Regions from separate parts of the Homo sapiens genome. Here regions 1, 2 and 3 are each linked to region 4. The links are contacts of gene promoters, found by promoter capture Hi-C in blood cells and fetal thymus (Javierre and others, 2016). All regions are on one chromosome and are shown on one strand. Each heading gives the region's core, a stretch centred on a gene start or on the middle of the fragment in contact. The rest is flanking DNA. Distances are from core to core; before and after follow the strand shown. Region 1 holds the start of TNFRSF25 (TNF receptor superfamily member 25). Region 2 holds the start of ACOT7 (acyl-CoA thioesterase 7). Region 3 overlaps PLEKHG5 (pleckstrin homology and RhoGEF domain containing G5). Region 4 holds the start of THAP3 (THAP domain containing 3).

Evidence for each region. Contacts are between HindIII fragments. The CHiCAGO score rates a contact against its expected background, and 5 or more counts as called.
Region 1: a contact is called between the fragment with the promoter of TNFRSF25 here and the fragment with the promoter of THAP3 in region 4, in 5 of 17 cell types (activated CD4 T cells, non-activated CD4 T cells, naive CD4 T cells and 2 more). The highest score is 11.2, in activated CD4 T cells.
Region 2: a contact is called between the fragment with the promoter of ACOT7 here and the fragment with the promoter of THAP3 in region 4, in 11 of 17 cell types (non-activated CD4 T cells, naive CD8 T cells, activated CD4 T cells and 8 more). The highest score is 11.3, in non-activated CD4 T cells.
Region 3: a fragment that was not itself captured here is called in contact with the fragment with the promoter of THAP3 in region 4 in 11 of 17 cell types (naive CD8 T cells, naive CD4 T cells, fetal thymus and 8 more); the score reaches 11.9 in naive CD8 T cells.

What each region holds. Positions count from the first base shown.
Region 1 is chr1:6,463,981-6,468,086 of GRCh38, forward strand. TNFRSF25 (TNF receptor superfamily member 25) reads right to left here and starts at 2,193. Exons shown (of 10, transcript NM_003790.3): 1 at 2,089-2,193; 2 at 1,460-1,580; 3 at 1,108-1,242; 4 at 572-739; 5 at 395-473. The coding sequence starts at 2,127. PLEKHG5 (pleckstrin homology and RhoGEF domain containing G5) reads right to left here. Exons shown (of 21, transcript NM_020631.6): 20 at 3,845-4,106; 21 at 3,142-3,592. The coding sequence ends at 3,583. RefSeq lists an enhancer at 2,014-2,962. The HindIII fragment of the contact is 14,059 bases long and covers 1-4,106 here.
Region 2 is chr1:6,392,161-6,396,393 of GRCh38, forward strand. ACOT7 (acyl-CoA thioesterase 7) reads right to left here and starts at 1,607. Exons shown (of 9, transcript NM_007274.4): 1 at 1,097-1,607. The coding sequence starts at 1,239. RefSeq lists silencers at 918-1,007, 1,278-1,727 and enhancers at 956-1,467, 1,468-1,980, 1,981-2,491, 3,244-3,768. The HindIII fragment of the contact is 26,067 bases long and covers 1-4,233 here.
Region 3 is chr1:6,485,415-6,489,708 of GRCh38, forward strand. The region is part of intron 1 of PLEKHG5 (pleckstrin homology and RhoGEF domain containing G5); the gene reads right to left. Among named protein-coding and RNA genes, the nearest start is that of PLEKHG5, 4.1 kb to the right of the region's middle. The HindIII fragment of the contact is 7,493 bases long and covers 1-4,294 here.
Region 4 is chr1:6,623,547-6,627,430 of GRCh38, forward strand. THAP3 (THAP domain containing 3) reads left to right here and starts at 1,322. Exons shown (of 6, transcript NM_001195753.2): 1 at 1,322-1,408; 2 at 1,604-1,746. The coding sequence starts at 1,673. PHF13 (PHD finger protein 13) reads left to right here. Exons shown (of 4, transcript NM_153812.3): 4 at 1-484. RefSeq lists a silencer at 1,713-2,122. The HindIII fragment of the contact is 4,820 bases long and covers 1-3,884 here.

The sequences.
Region 1 (4,106 bases), core at 943-3,442, 160 kb before region 4:
TATTTAATAGGTCTCGCTCTGTTGCCCAGGCTGAAGTGCAGTGGCACGATCATAGCTCACTGCAGCCTCAACCTCCTTCAGCCCAAGTTTTAAAGCTATATCAATGTGACTCTCTGTGTAAGTGACAAATCATCTGTAATATCTGGCTAGGATCGCTGGGGGGAATGCTGGCTGAAAGTGAAGGCAAATACCCTTATGTATCTGGCTAAGGCGGATCCAGATTGCTCTTTTGCCATCTAAGTTTGCCTGAAGTGGGGCCCACCCATCACAGGGCCAAGGCTCCCTCCTCCCTATCCCCTCTTCCTATTCCTGAACCAGCAGCACCTGCCCCACCCCAGGCCCCTGCTCTGCTCCCAGCCGCCCTTCCCTCCATCCCACGACAGCTAGGAATTACGTGGGGCAGGACACGCAGCCATCGCCATGTTCATAGAAGCCAGGCAGGCAGGTCCCACAGTCAGTATCTCTGCGGGAACCTGCAATCCAGGAGAGGCATGCGTCACCATGGGACAGGAGTGGGTCAGGCAGGGAGAAGGGGGTCTGGGAGTAGAGAGCCCTGGGTGGGGGTACTCACAGAGTAGCCGTGTGTGGCGGTGCAGGGCCCCGCAGTCTAGGCATGGTTGGCAGTAGAAGGGTGAACTGCTGACACATTGGCTGACCTGGCACTCCACAAACCAGCCTGGCTTACAGCCACAGCGGGTGTCGGCCACTGCTGAACAGTTCTCCAGCGCCACCTGGGAGGCTGGTGGGGGTGCAGGGAGATGGGGAGTGGAGAGTTAGTCAGGGCCAAAGGCTCCCATGGAGAGGCAGAGGCATTATCCCAAGATAATGGAGACAGAAATAGGCGAAAGACAGACAGGTACAGGGCTACCCTAAAAAAGAGAGAAGCTCAGAGATTAAGGCCGACCAGAGGCCAAGGCACATGGAGAGATGGGAAGGTCACCAGGAAGAGAGAAGGGGCAAGGGCACCCTGAAGGAGGATCAGGGTGGAGGGTTCTGGCAAGGGTGGGTGCAGGACCCTCACACCCCAAGTTTGGGCCCGAGCCAGCCACTTCCTTCAGAAAGGCCTGTCCTTAGGAACTCCCTGCCAAGCACTGAGAAGCCCCTCACCCTGCTCATCACAGGCCTGGCAGCGGGCACATTCAGAATTATGGTGGTTCTCCCAGGCCAAGAAGGTGTCTTGGGGACACACAAGGCAGGTGGAGTTGCCGCAGGGCTCCGTGCAAGGGGCCTTCAGGTAGTGCCCTGTGGAACCAGGCAGGGGTCAGGCAGGCAGAGGGGCTGCCCAGCAACCCCCGACCTGCTTCCCACCCTGCCCTCCCTCCCTCTTTCTCTCCAGCTCCCTACTTCTCTGTCAGCCTACCCCTACCTCCCCTGCCAGCCTCCTCTTACCTCCCGGGCCTGCCCGCCACCTCTCCAGCCCTGCCTGCCCCATGCCTCTCCCACCCCTGTGGCCACTTACCCGCTGGGCAGCCTCTGCAACAAAACAGACCAATCTTCTTGTGGAAGTCACCGGCACAGTCACACCTGGGGCTACGAGTGCCGCCCTGGGCCCGGGCCCCCAGCAGCACCAGGAGGAGCGCCTGGGGGACAGGTGCTGCTGACTCTCAGCGCAGCTGCCCACGTGGGGCCTCTCCCTGCTGCGTCTCCTCCATTTCAGAGGCCCCAGCATTTGCCCACAGAGCAGCCCACTTCCCAGGCCCCGGGCAGAAGGGGTGCCCATGGGTGGAGAGGAAACTAACTTCCTTCCCCCCGCGCACACACCAGGCTTCGGAGGGGGCGCTTACCAGCCCCTCACAAGTTTCCCCTCCACCAGAGCAGGAATCCAGCAGCGCCCCCACCCCCACCCATGCTTTCTGTTGGGGGAGGGACACTGATAATGCTCTGCCTGGGGCCCCCAGACCCTCCTGGGAGGGGTTTCCTCTCAGTGGAAGGGCTACGCCCTGGAGGAGCCTTTAACGAGATCGGAAAGGGCGGCCAACCCAGCCCCCAGTGAGGCTTGGAGTGGAGACGCGCCCGGGGCCCCTTCCTTCACCGAGGCTCTTGGGACAGGGCTCAAAGCTGCCCCTAGCCTCCTGCGTCTCAACTCACCGCCGCCACCGCCGCGCAGCCCCGCGGCCGCTGCTCCATAGCCCTCCGACGGGCGCCCAGGGGCTTCCCGGCTCCGTGCTCTCTGCCCGTCGTGGTTCCGCCTTCAGCCCCGCGCCCGCAGGGCCCGCCCCGCGCCGTCGAGAAGGGCCCGCCTGGCGGGCGGGGGGAGGCGGGGCCGCCCGAGCCCAACCGAGTCCGACCAGGTGCCCCCTCTGCTCGGCCTAGACCTGAGCTCATTAGGCGGCAGCGGACAGGCCAAGTAGAACACGCGAAGCGCTGGGCTGCCTGCTGCGACCAGGGGCACAGGATAGAGCTGCATCTCGGTCCCCACCCCGACTCTCGCCCCAACCCTGAGAACCACTTCAAGGTAGAGCCAGGGCAAGTGACTTCTCTCTCGGCCTCCGCGTCCCCAGCCATGGAGGAGGTTGGGCCAAAAGTACCGCAAGGGGCCAAGCGCAGTAGCTCAGGCCTGTAATTCTAGCACTATGGGAGGCAGAGGCGGGCGGAACACTTGGGGTCAGGAGTTCGAGACCAGCCTGACCAATATGGTGAAATGCCGTCTCTACTTAAAATACAAAAACTAGCCCGGCGTGGTGGTGCACACCTGCAGTTCCAGCTACTAGAGTGGCTGGGGCAGGAGAATCGTTTGAACCCGGGAGGCAGAGGTTGCAGTGAGCCGACATCACACCACTGCACTCCAACCTAGGTGACAGAGTGAGACTCTGTATTAAAAAAAAAAAAAAAGTTCCTGAAGGGACCCCCATGGAGGACCCACCTTCCCAAGAGGGCTGGCCTGAGTGTGGGAACTGGGCAGATTCAGCCCTGAATCCCCGGGGGGCACCTGGGGAGAGGCTCTGATGGTGGCTGAAGGTGGGGAAGTCTGGGGGTGTTGGTCTGGTGGCACCCCACACCCCATTACTTCCCAGTGCTTCCCATGGCAAGCTCCATCCGTGGCCCATCCGTGGCAAGTGGAGGAGCACAGGAACACAAGGAGGCCGCCCTGAACTCAAGTGCCCCGAGTCACTGGGCCCCAAAGCAAAGGACTCTTCCCAGTGGAGTCTAGACAAGTCTTTATAAAAGAACCAAAAGCTCAATAAATACGTAACTTCACAGAACCCAGCCCAAGCCAGGGGTGGCCTGTGGGACTGGGAAGGTGGGGGCAGGGCAGGAGTGAATCCCACTGGAGGCCAGTGAGGGTAGAAGTAGGATGGGCAGCCTAGGAGCCCAGCCCTGAAGACTCGAGCTGAGCTGGTAACTTCGGGGAGTAGGTGACGAGGGGCTGCCTGGGCAGGTGGGGTGGTACTGTGGCCTGGGCCTCCTCCACTCCATCCAGTCCGGCAAAGCGCAAATCGGGCCCGGGCGTAGGCAGGGATCCTGCCCAGCATCCGGCTCATGCATACAGGAGGCAGTAGCTGAAGCAGGTGCCGGCACGCCCCAGGAGGCAGGCTGTCTGCTGTCTCTTGGTCAATGGCACTCTTGGGGGCCTCCCTCTGCTCAGACCTCCCTACAGGGTGGGGAGGGGACAGAGTCCTTCTTTGGCTGACGCCATTCAGAGTGGCTCTGGTCACCCTCTCTTCCCCACGGCACTCCTCAGGCCCCTTCACTGCTGCCCACCACAGCCCCCTGCGCCCAGACACTGGGCAGGGTTCAGGCTCCCTCCGCCATGACCCTCCCCAAATGCGATGCTCCCAGGCATGAGTGGGCCCCCATGCCAGTGCCCTGAGCCACCTGCCCTACCCCAGTCCAGGCCACTCACGAGGCAGTGAGCGTGGAGTTAAGCAGCAGGGTGGTCCTGATTCGGTAGAGCTGGGCCAGGGTCAGCTTCCTGTGCTGGGCAGAGACCCCTGGTGGGGGCTCAGGCTGGACCCTGGGAGAGGCCCCCGAGGGCAGGTCTCCACACCTCTTCCTGTGGGAGCCTGCAGGTTCCCCGGCCAGGCAGCCGACTAGCCCAGGACCGCTGCCAGGGCTAGGGGCCCCTCGGCAATCCCAGCTGGGCCCAGCTTCCTGAGGGGAGCCCT
Region 2 (4,233 bases), core at 357-2,856, 230 kb before region 4:
TGGAGATGTCAACATCTACAGGAAAGTAACTTGCTTCTATTGGACTTGGCTTGAGCCCAAGGTCAGTCTGTGATGCCCAACCCCCAAATGTGAGGAACCCACTACCAAAACAGAAAGCAGCTCTCACTCCTGGTAGTTCATCAAGCAGGATAGGACCGGTCGCAGGCCACAGAGCCTGTGTGCAGTGGCTGAAAACCTAGACTCCTTGTCCTCACTTAGCTCATGCACAAATGCCAGCCTGCTGCTTCCGATTCTGCCGAAGAGAACTGCAGAGTAACCTTCAGGCTGCCCTCCCCACCTCCTATGGGAAATGAGCTTGTTCATGATCTCCAGCCTCCAGCTTCCTCTGGGGGCCTGCATCTATCTACTCAGTACCTGGTGGAAGAAGAGGGGGTGCTCTAGAAGGACAACCCTTTGCCTCTATTGTGTAAGATGCTTTCAGGCCCAACAGACCACTGATTCCCTTTTCTTCATAGTAAACTGTTAGAGGTAGACAGTATTATCTGTTCTTCCTTTCAACACCTGCCCTCCCCCAAACCGAAGCAGTGCACTGAAGACGGTAGCTCTGCAACCTCCTCCCACAGGGGCACCCACCGAGGGGCTCGCGCGGCTCTGGGCACCTCCCCTCCACCTCTGGGGGCTTTGGTTAGCGCAGCACAACCGCCGAGGTAATGATCCCGAATCCTCGAGGAGGCTAAGCAGGACCACGGGGCTGAGGCTCCGGGATGCTCGGGCGAGGCCCGAGGCGGGGCGGCCCACGGGCGCCGGTCGCCGGGCTCTGGAGCTGTGCATTGACCTCCGCCCGCCCCGTCCCTGCCTGGCTTTCTCGCCCAAACGGCCCGTGGCGCGGCCGCCGCCCTGGAGATGCGGCCAGGAGGAGCCGGCTGGAGGCGGGCGGGGGCCGCCCGGCTTGTGCGGCATCGCGAGTCGCATCCCGGCCGGGCGGGCGTCCGGGGCGGCGGCGCGGAAGGCCGTGCGGGGAATCGGCGGGCGGGGGCGGCCTCGGCGGGTGGGGACCACAGAGCCAAGCGGGGCAGGCCTGGGGCGGTGACCGGCGCGCCTGGCCGCTGCAGGCTGCGCGCGGGCCCTCTCTTACCGGCAGATCTGGATGGCGGACGGCGTCTCGACGTCTGGGCCCGACATGCTGGGGGCTGCGGCGGCGGATGCGGCGGGCGGCTGCAGAAGGGCGCAGGTGTCTGGCAGGCCCGGCGCGGAATGAATGAGCCCGGGCCGCGCCATAAAGGGGGAGGGCAGAGGTGGAGCGATGGGGCTGGTGAGGCGGGGCCTGCGCGCCGGGGGCAATCGAACGCGGCCTCCCCGCGCCGACCCCGCCCCCGCGCCGGCCCCACCCCGAGCCCCGCCTCCCAGGCCGCCAAGGCTGCAGAGAGCTCGCGCGGGCGTACGATTCTGGCGGCGTGGGGGCCCAGGCAGCCGCCGCTTCCAGAAGGTTCGGTGGCGGTTGGGCCGCGCCGGTGCGGGGAAGGCCCGCTAGCCGCGGCAGCCGCGCCCGACCCGGTGGCAGCCCCGAGGGAAGCGTCTGGGGCGGCCTAAGTGGCGGAGCAGGGCGGACTTGGGCCCTCACTCTCCGCGCGGCGGTAAATATTTGTGCTGGGCGTTCCCGGCCGCCCGCGCCGCCGATTCGCTGCCGCGCCCAGTGCCTGGGCGGCCGGATGAGGTCAGAGCGGAAGGCGCGGCCCGGGCTCCTGGCAGTGGGGCCTGATTCCCACCCCCGCCCCCAACCCACCCCGGCACCAGTCGCCCGCATCGCGGCTCTCGCTAAGATCGGCCCTAAGAGAGAATGGAAGGCTGTTTCCTAGAAAGGAGCATTGGTGGCGGCTGCTGGGAAGACACGGGGAATGGAACGGGCCTTTGCTTCCGCAGCACAAAGCGTCACGAGGTGGGGAGGAGGAAAGGCCGGCGACTATCTACACCGCCGCCTGCAGCTTTTACTGGGAGCGCTGAGCGCCAGCCTGGAGGTGCACGTGTTGCAGTGAGGAGCCCTGAAACATGCGTGTTTTACTGCACAAGATGTGCCCTTGAATGGAGTCTAGGCCAGTCGGGGTCACCAAAAAAAATCCACCAAAAAACACCCAAGAAGGGAGAAGCGGTCACCCCCCACGTGCTGGAATGACAGCTTTTTACTTGCTAGGCAGTTGGACCTTTTCCGAATTTTCTACAATGCACATAGATTTGTACTTACATCTTTAAATTAAAACCCACGCAACTCCGGCTCCCTAGTGCAATTTGAACAACCCATTTACACTCAGCTAGGTAGCTCTGAAGGAACTGTGCCTCACCCCGGTCACCCTTGAGTTACCAGACCGTGGAGGCAGCCCACAGCATGATCTGTAGCTCCCAGAAGCAGGGGCAGTCAAAGTCAGAACTCTGTGATTTCAAGACTTTTATACTAAGAATTTTGTTTTTCTGTTTTCTTTTTTTTTTTTTTTTTTTGAGACGGAGTCTTGCTCTGTTGCCCAGGCTGGAGTGCAGTGGTGCAATCTCAGCTCACTGCAAGCTCCGCCTCCCAGGTTCACGCCATTCTCCTGCCTCAGCCTCCCAAGTAGCTGGGACTACAGGCGCCTGCCACCACGCCCGGCTAATTTTTTGTATTTTTAGTAGAGACGGGGTTTCACTGTGTTAGCCAGGATGGTCTTGATCTCCTGACCTTGTGATCTGCCCGCCTCTGCCTCCCAAAGTGGTGGGATTACAGGCGTGAGCCACCACGCCTGGCCTGTTTTCTTTTTTTGATATAGAGTCTCGTTCTGTCGCCCAGGCTGGAATGCAGTGGTGTGATAGCTCACTGTAACCTCTGCCATCCAGTTTCAAGCAATTCTCCTGCCTCAACCACACTGAGTAGCTGGGACCATAGGCATGCACCACCACGTTTGGCTTATTTTTGTATTTTTAGTACAGATGTGTCCAGAATTGGTGGGTTCTTGGTCTCACCGACTTCAAGAATGAAGCCGCGGACCCTCGTGGTGAGTGTTACAGCTCTTAAGGTGGCGCATCTGGAGTTTCTTCCTTCTGGTGGGTTCGTGGTCTCCCTGGCTCAGGAGTGAAGCTGCAGACCTTCACAGTGAATGTTAACGGCTCATAAAGGCAGTGTGGACCCAAAGAGCGAAAGAACAACACTCCTACAGCGTGGAAGGGGACCAGAGTGGGTTGCCACTGCTGGCTCGGGCAGCCTGCTTTTATTCTCTCATCTAGCCCTACCCACATCCTGCTGATTGGTAGAGCAGAGTGGTCTGTTTTGACAGGGTGCTGATTGGTGTGTTTACAATCCCTGAGCTAGACACAAAGGTTCTCCATGTCCCCACCAGATTAGCTAGATAGAGTGTCGACACAAAGGTTCTCCAAGTCCCCACCAGCGTAGTTAGATACAGAGTGTTGATTGGTGCATTCACAAACCCTGAGCTAGACACAGGGTGCTGATTGGTGTGTTTACAAACCTTGAGCTAGATACAGAGTGCCGATTGGTGTATTTACAATCCCTTAGCTAGACATAAAGGTTCTCCATGTCCCCACCAGACTCAGGAGCCCAGCTGGCTTCACCCAGTGGGTCCCGCACTGGGGCTGCAGGTGGAGCTGCCTGCTAGTCCCGCACTGTGTGCCCACACTCCTCAGCCCTTGGGTGGTCGATGGCACTGGGTGCCGTGGAGCAGGGGGCGGTGCTCATTGGGGAGGCTCGGGCCGCACAGGAGCCCATGGAGTGGGGGGAGGCTCAGGCATGGCGGGCTGCGGGTCCCGAGCCCTGCCCCGGGGGAAGGCAGCTAAGGCCCTGCGAGAAATTGAGCACAGCAGCTGCTGACCCAGGTGCTAAGCCCCTCACTGCCCGGGGCCGGCGGGGACGGCCGCGGCTCCGAGTGCGAGGCCCGCCGAGCCCACGCCCACCTGGAACTCGCCCTGGCCCGCAAGCACCGCTCGCAGCTCCGGTTCCGCCCACGACTCTCCCTCCACACCACACCGCAAGCTGAGGGAGCCGGGTCCGGCCTTGGCCAGCCCAGAAAGGGGCTCCCACAGTGCAGCGGCAGGCTGAAGGGCTCCTCAAGTGCCGCCAAAGTGGGAGCCCAGGCAGAGGAGGCGCTGAGAGCGAGCGAGAGCTGTGAGGACTGCCAGCATGCTGTCACCTCTCACAGATAGGGTTTCACCATGTTGGCCAAGCTGGTCTTGAACTCCTGACCTCAGGTGATCCACCCACCCCAGCCTCCCAAAGTGCTGGGATTACAGGCCTGA
Region 3 (4,294 bases), core at 874-3,373, 140 kb before region 4:
CGTCCGGAGACACCGGGTCCTGTCCCCATGGCGGCCGGAGGAAGCCGCGGTCTGCGCCGCCCGCCGGACAAAGCGCGGAGCCCCGCTTCCTGCCATTGTGCGGCCGCGCCCGCCCCCGCCGAGCGCGGGGACCCCGGGGAGGGCCGGGCCCGGAACAGCCCCCAGCCCCCCAGGAAGGCGGACACCTCCCTCCCGCCCGGGCCCTCGCCACCCAGCCCCGGGGATCCCCGCCTCCCCGCCCGGGAACCCCTACACCCCCGCCTCCGCCTGCCCGGGCGACCCCCCGCCTCCCCGCCTCTGCCCAGACCCGGGGACTCCACACCCCTACCTCTGCCCGGCCGGGGGACCCCCACAGCCCCGCCTCCGCCCAGTCCCCGGGACCCCCACCTTCCCACCTCTGCCTGGCCCGGGGTACCCCCACCTCTGCGCCTCTGCGCGGCCCCGGGCCCCTCTCTTCTCTGACTCCCTCCTCAACACCAATGCCGGGCTCAGAGGGCTCCTCAGAACTTGCTCTTTCTCCTGGGGAGCTCCTTGAATGCTGGAGGCAGGGGGCGCTGGTGACACCCCCCCCCACCTTGGAGACTGTGGAGCCCCTCCCCTGGGTGACTCGATCCCCGCCCAGCCCTGGGGGTGCCCACTCTGCTGTGGTCCCCACCTCACCCTCAGCGCCAACACGCACGGTCCCTCCCAGCCAGAAGGGTACCTTCCCTCCTCCCTTCCTCCTGGAGACCCCCACCCCCGCCTCGGAGCCTCAGCCCAGGGGACCCCTTCTTACTCCCAGCAAGGGAGCTCTTAGAATACAGGCACCAGAAGGGGGAGGCCAGGATGGGGCACACTCCCCTCAGGGTCCTTGGTCCGGCTCTCCATCTAGCCCCAGGGACACCCCTCTCTGCTCCAACACCAGCTTTGAGCCCCAGTCACACACCCACCCCAACCTCACAACCAGCTCTCATCTCAGCCCCTCCCATCAACCTGGAGACCCCTGCCCGAGAGCCTGAGCCCCAGGGACACCCCCTCACACCGACTGCTCACTGCCCAGGTACGGCAGAGGCCGAGAGCCAAAGGCCGGTGGCCTCTGGAAAGGGCCGTGGGCAGAAGGCGGGCTGCTCTGAGAGGCTATCCTTGGCAGCCCCCAGGAGCTGGGTGAGGTGGAGGCATCAGGAAACCCTGGCGACCCACATGGCACAGCAGCCCAGGTCCCTGCAGTTCTAGGCCAGGTCCCCACCGCCAGGGGGCACTCAGCAAAGCCTGAGAGGACGCAAACGCCCAGACTCTGGTGCTGGAGTCACCACTACACGGCTGTCAAAGCGCTTTTACACTGATTCCCAGGAAGGCAGGGCAGGCACCATTAGCCCCATTCACGGCGTGGGGGATAAAGTGACATAAAGAGACAAAAGTCTACAGGCAAGACTGAAACTCAGACTGTGGCTCTGGGATTCTGGGATGGCCTCCTTGGGACACTCCTCAGAACCCATGGGGGTGAGGTGGCCATGCTGTCTGTCATCAGCCCACCCACCCCTAATTGCTCCTCCTCCACCTGGTTCCATGGGGAAAGAGGGTGGGAAGGGGGCCAGGGTCCGTGAGATGGCTTTGGGAGGGCAGCAGCGTTTTATTAGAGGCTGGGAGACTTCCAGGGCTGTCTCCACTCCCAAAGCCCAGGTCACCCACTGTCTACACCACAGGCAGAGTTGTGTTTTTGTTTTTTGTTTGTTTGTTTTTGAGACGGAATCTTGCTCTGTCACTCACGTTGGAGTGCAGTGGCATGATCCCAGCTCACTACGACCTCCACCTCCCAGGTTCAAGTGATTCTTCTGCCTCAGCCTCCCCAGTAGCTGGGATTACAGGCGCCCGCCACTACACCCAGCTACTTTTTGTATTTTAGTAGAGATGGGGTTTCGCCATGTTGACCAGGCTGGTCACTAACTCCTGATCTCAAGTGATCCACCCCCACCTTGGCCTCCCAAAGTGCTGAGATTACAGGCATGAGCCACCACACCCGGCCAACAGGCAGAGTTTTGAAAACTAAAACTTCCCATCTTGCTTATAGTGAAATCCCACCATGGCCGGGCTCCCGCCTCCCTCCCAGCTGGTCCGCACAGGGTCCACCTGCCGGTCTTCCTTCTCTCCCTACAGCTCGCCAAGCTCAGGGCCTTCTCCTCTGTATTTTCTGTCTGGAATTCCACGCACCCTATCTTGAAACAGCTGACACCGGGCCCCAACTTAAATGTTACCTCTAAGACGTCCTTTTCCCTCATCTTAAAATAAACCACCCTTACCCTCCCACTCTCAATTCCTTTAAGTTAAATTATTTCCTTCTTAGTGTTTATTACTACCTGTAATTCATTTCTTTGTTCACTTTTTTATCATCATTCTTCCCTACCAGACTGTCCTCTCCAGAAGCCAGCGCCTTGGCCGTCTGCATCTCACTGTGTCCTCGGCACTTAGAACAGTCCTGGTGCACAGTAGGTGCGCTTGGTGGGGATGAGATCAGTGAACAGATGAAGGCAGAAGGGCCTTCATGCCACAGAAGGACATGGGGACAGGAAAGGGCTCGGCCAGGATATCCCTTCCTGTGGCCGACAGTCAACAGAGCCTTCCCCACTGCCAGACCGAAGGTCTCTTCCTCCTCCTAGTATCCATGACCTTGGGCCTGCTGGCCCTGGGCAGGTGAGTTCCTACTTCAAATCGGGTGGTCTTGCCCCAGACCTCCACCCCCATACTGTCCTGTAGGCAGATAACTGCATTTCACTGAGCATTCCATGTGCCACCCCATCGTGGGAGTTCCAGGCAGTGAATCCCATTCGCTCTTCTCAAAGACTCTTAGGAGGAGATACTGTTACAATCCCCATTTAACAGATAGAGAAACTAAGGCCTGTGTCAACTGACTTGCCCCAAAGTCACCAGCTGCTGCTACGTAGGGAAATGGGTGCCTCAGGCACAGGGCAGGCGTGGGGCCTGAAGACAGCTGAATGTTGGTTTGGGCAACAGGGCCCTGGAGATTGCCTTCCTGAAGACACGGCAGATCCCAAAGCCAGCTTGTGGGGAGCCCACCGGTGTGGGGTAACCAGGTTGCATCAAGTGGAGACCACCAGGGCTGGGTCAGGGCGGATCACCAGAGGTCACCTGAGTGCCTGGGCCCTGGCCATCCCTGAGTGAGGCTGCTGCCTGGGTACTCAGCAAGGGTGGGGGACTGTTCCTTAGGGGCAAGAGTGCAGAGCAGAAAGGAGCCCCCAGCCCCTGTACCAGGGCAGTGGGGTGGGCCTGGGCAGGCTCCTGCATTCCCACCTCCTCTCCACAGCAGGGAGCTGAAACAGCTCAGGGGCAGGCCCAAGAAGTCCTGGCCCCCAACTCCCTGGGGAGGGAGCCCCTCCCCAGCCCAGCCCCAGCTCCAGGCTTGTGAGTCAGGGCCGGCTTGTTGAAACTGATACCCAGAAACCAGATGCGGAGGCTGATGAATAATGGAGTCTCCAAGGCAGGACCCCCGCACCCGGCTGTTCTCCCTCAGTATCACCTCCCCCAGCCCCAGAAAAGCAGATGGGAAACCAGGGATCCCCCAGGCATCCCTGCCCCACAACGAGCTGGGGCCCCAGCCTGGTCTGGGTGGGAGAGGGACTTCCCTGTCCAGGAAAGGACGCAGGTCTGGGGCCAGCTCCAGGCTCTGCCGACAGCAGACGGGCCTGGAACCAGGAGTCCGAGCTCTCTGGCTGGAGGGATGTCCTTGCCAGGAATTCCCACCAAGGCTAAGCTCCCCTGGGAGCCTGCTAGTCCCAAGGCCCCACCCAACACCTTAGAAATCCAGGGGTGGAGACTGCATGCATGGGCAGGCCAGCCAGGGCGGGGTGGCTTTGCCAGGCGGCTCTCTACGCTCCACCCGGCCTACCCACCCTCCTTTCCCCTAGGCCCAGGCCTCACCCATCACCCCTTGGGTTCTGAGGCTCACCTGGAGTCAGAGCCTGACCTAAGGCCCTGCCCTGTGCCGGGCAGATGGCAGGGACACAGAAAACCTCTCCCCAGGCTAAGCCCACCGCACGGGCCCTGGAAGCCAGGAAGGCCCCTTCCTCCCCAGGGAGCGGTCCTGGCTAGTATGCCCAAGGCTGGGACCCAGTGCTAGAGAAAGAGGGAGGGGCTGCAGTCTGTGAACATCCCCTCCTGCCCAGCCTCTGCAGTTCCCAGCCCCAGACCCCAGCGTGTGTCTTCGGAGCACCTGGACTAGCAAGCCCTTCCCCGGTGCAACTTAGAAGCCTCCTTGGTAGGGAGCGGGGGAAAGAGGGCACCTGCCTGGGCTTCAGAAGAC
Region 4 (3,884 bases), core at 72-2,571:
ATCCATGTGACTTTAGAATGGAACTGCCGGCCCTGGCAACTGTCACGTGTGCTAGAAGGTTCGATGCCTCTGGAATGCATGTGATACTCATCTCCATTTTGTTTCCTTGATTGCATTTTTGTTCTTTTAGCAGATCTGTCCCTGTGGGTGGTGTCTAAGAAGTCGGACACCTTGGTTTTTGTGTTAGATTGAGCTGGGCAGCTGCAATCAGCTTCTTTATATGCAAATTAGGCACGACCCATCTGTGGTTCCTGGTTGGTGGCTAATGAAGTGAGGGGAGGGAGGGATGTCACCCCAAAAGTAGGCCCTCCCATTGGCTTTGGCCAGGCCAGACACTTCACATCGTTTACATGGTTCTGTGTAATTTTAAAGTTTATGTGTATAAAGCGAAGCTGTTTCTGTGAAACTGTATATTTTGTAAATAAATATATTGCTACTTTGAGGTTCATGATTCAAGGTTCAGGCGATTGCGTTCTGTGCTGAAGGACAATTGTGTTTCTTTTCTCCTTGCTACCTCCCCAAAGCATGATTACATCAAGTCTCTGGGAAGGCAGCGTCTCAGTGTGCACTTAGCAGGATGGAAAATGCCCACGGTGTTAAGGTACCTTGCTGGTGAATTCCTTAGAAACAAACCACAGGACGAGTAGATGTGAATGGTTTTTGCAGTTTCTTCATCAGATTGAGGATTAGCTCAAGCCCCAGTGAGTGGTTAGCCTACTTTTGATTTTTTTTTTGTTTTTGAGACTTGAGTTTCGTTCTTGTCACCTAGGCTGTGAAGTGCTGTGATGAGATTTTGGCTCATTGTAACTTCCACCTCCCGGGTTCAAGAGATTCTCCTGCTTCAGCCTTCCGAGTAGCTGGAATTACAGGTGCCCGCCACCATGTGCGGCTAATTTTTGTATTTTTAGTAGAGATGGGGTTTCACCATGTCGGTCAGGCTGGCCTTGAACTCCTGATCTCAGGTGATCCGCCTGCCTCGGCCTCCCAAAGTGCTGGGATTACAGGCGTGAGCCACTGCGCCTGGCCGATTTTTTTTTTTTTCTTCTTACAAGATGACGCCTTCCCTATAGGCTGCTTTGAGAAAGCTGCAGCCTCGGAGTTTCTGCAAGGCCTGAACTGGAATCTCCCTCCCCTTCAGTTGCCCTTTTTGCCTCTTCACGTTTGGGGGTTCCCTGTGACCAAACTTAAGGGCAGTGAGCTGTCTGGCCTCTGAACTGACACCACCAGTGGCCAACTAGTACCACCTCCAGTGACGTCAGAGGAGTCCAGACCTATTCACAATTCAAAGCCCTAAAAACACTGAGGGGTTGGCCGTTGGTTTCCAGTTGTCCAAGCCTGTGAGTGGCTATGCGTCCTGGTTGGGTGCTCAAAGCAAGGAGGTGAAAGGCGACCAGCATTGGCGAATGGGGTAAGACTTGCACAGGCCCAAGGCTAGGAGTTGGGGTTTCGGGCCTGAATTGGGGCCCGGAGCACCCCTTTACGTGGCGCCCCGGGTCCCGTCCGACCCTGGGGAGACGCGGGTGGCTGGGATGGCAGGATGAGCGCGCCCTGGAGGCGAGCCAGGCCCGTCACCACCTCCCAGCGGCCCCGCCCCTCCCCGCAGGTCCCTCCCCTCTCCGCAGGCCCCGCCGCCGCCGCCATCTTTGTTGGGGGCAGCCAGGCCTGGCTCGAGATGCCGAAGTCGTGCGCGGCCCGGCAGTGCTGCAACCGCTACAGCAGCCGCAGGAAGCAGCTCACCTTCCACCGGTAAGAGGCGGGGACCCGGGGGCGCGGGAGGCCCAGACCCGGGGCCCGCGGACCGACTCCGAGGCCTTGGCGCGCCGGGCGGGAGGCCCAAAGGCGTGCGGCCGCTGGGCCCGGGGACAGGCCGAGGTCCTGGGCCCAGAGGGGCTGGCGCCGCCGCGCCCGCCGCGGGGATGCGGGGAGTGGCGGACGGAGGGGCAGCGGCGCACCTGGCGGGGCCAGGGCCGGGACGTGCAGGGAGCGGAGCAGGTGTTTGCTGAACAGACTAGCGGGCCGCGGCCGGGGTTTGCTGTGTCCCTGGTCGCTGCAGCCCCCGCCGCGCGCGGTCCTGAAGGGAGCCCGGCACCTGGGCAGTGCAGTGGAGGAGTGGAACCCCCAGGGGCGTCCTGGCAGTGGGAAGGGACTCTGCAGGGTCGCGGGAGGACGCTGGAGACTTTGGAGTCTGCTCCAGCACTCGCCCGGCCCGGCCCGGCCCGGCCCAGGAGCAATCGTCATTAGTCACAGTTGCGCTTTCTCCAAGGTCCAGTCACGGCACCATTTCTCTACCCACTTTTGGGCACATTCCGAAGGGGGGCTTGTGCTCATCGTTCCCATTCCCTCTGCTCCCATTGTTCTGTTTTGTGATAAATGCTTTGCTTGAAGTATACGTAATGTACATGCAGAAAAATGCACGAATCATAAGTATACAGCCCAGCGAGTTTTCCCCAAGTGAACGTCACTGAACTGAAACGTTACCAGCTGGGCGCGGTGGCTCAAGCCTGTCATCCCAGCACTTTGGGAGGCCGAGGCGGGAGGATCGCTTGAGCCTGGGAGTTCGAGACCTGCCTGGGCAACAGAAGGAGACCCTACCTCTACAAATAATTTAAAAAAATTAGCCAGGCAAGGTGGTGTGCCCCTGTAGTCCCAGCTGCTCGGGAGACTGAAGTAGGAGGATCGCTTGAACCCAGCTTCGAGGCTGCAGTGAGCTATAATCTTGCCACTGCACTCCAGCCTGGGTGACAGAGCGATACCTCATCTCAAAATAAGAAATAAAACATCACTACCCCCGAGAAGAACCCCTACCTGGACCCCCTCCCAGGCCCTCCTCCTCTCTCCTGCCCAAAGGGAACCCTATCCTGCCCGCTATCAGAGTGGATTGCAGTTCATTCGCTTTCGTTGCCACATAATATTCCATTGAATGCAAGTGCCAGAATTTACTGATTTGTTCTACAATTGAAGGGCATTTGGGTGGCCCCATTTTTTGGATGACAAATACATGGTTCTGGAGGCTGGGCGTGGTGGCTCACGCCTGTAATCCCAGCACTTTGGGAGGCCGAGCTGGGTGGATCACCTGAGGTCAGGAGTTGGAGACCAGCCTGACCAACATGGTGAAACCCCGTCTCTACTTCTCTACTACAAATACAAAAATTACCCGGGCGTGGTAGCGCGCACCTGAAATCCCAGCTACTCAGGAGGCTAAGGCAGGAGAATCACTTGACCCTGGGAGGCAGAGCTTGCAGTGAACCGAGATCGCACCACTACACTCCATCTTGGGCAACAGAGCGAGACTCCGTCTCAAAAAACAAAACAAAACAAACATTGTTTTGGCCAGTTTTGGTGGGACTTGTGTTGCAGTGCATCTATCTGTTTTGCCTCTGTCAGGTATGTACTTGGGGATGGAGTTGCTGCGCCTTCTCTCTTGAAGTCGTTTCCTCCACTCCCACGAGAGCTCTGTCACATCACTAGTGAGCCTTGTGACACTGATCGATTGCATAGCATTTCACACAACTGACCCCTGAGCCTGGGTCACTTTTCCCGCATGGCGTCTGGTACACTTCTTGGCCACAGGTGTCTCTTCTCAGTCTCCTTTGCTGGATCCTCCTTATTTCCAGCACTAAGTGTTGGAGCCCTGGGGTGTGGGCCATGGCCCAGGGGTGGCTTCTAGCCACACTTGCTCCCCAGGGGCCCATCTCACCCAGGCTTATCGGTTCCGCAGGGTTGGCCGCCACACTGACATCTCCAGATGCGTGTGGCCGCCTGTCACCCCAGCACATGGAGAGCCTAAAAAGCACCTCAAATTTAACTCCTGACATAAAAAACAAACTTCTTTTTTTGGAGACAGACTCTCACTCTGTTGCCCAGGTGGAGTGCAGTGGCGCAGT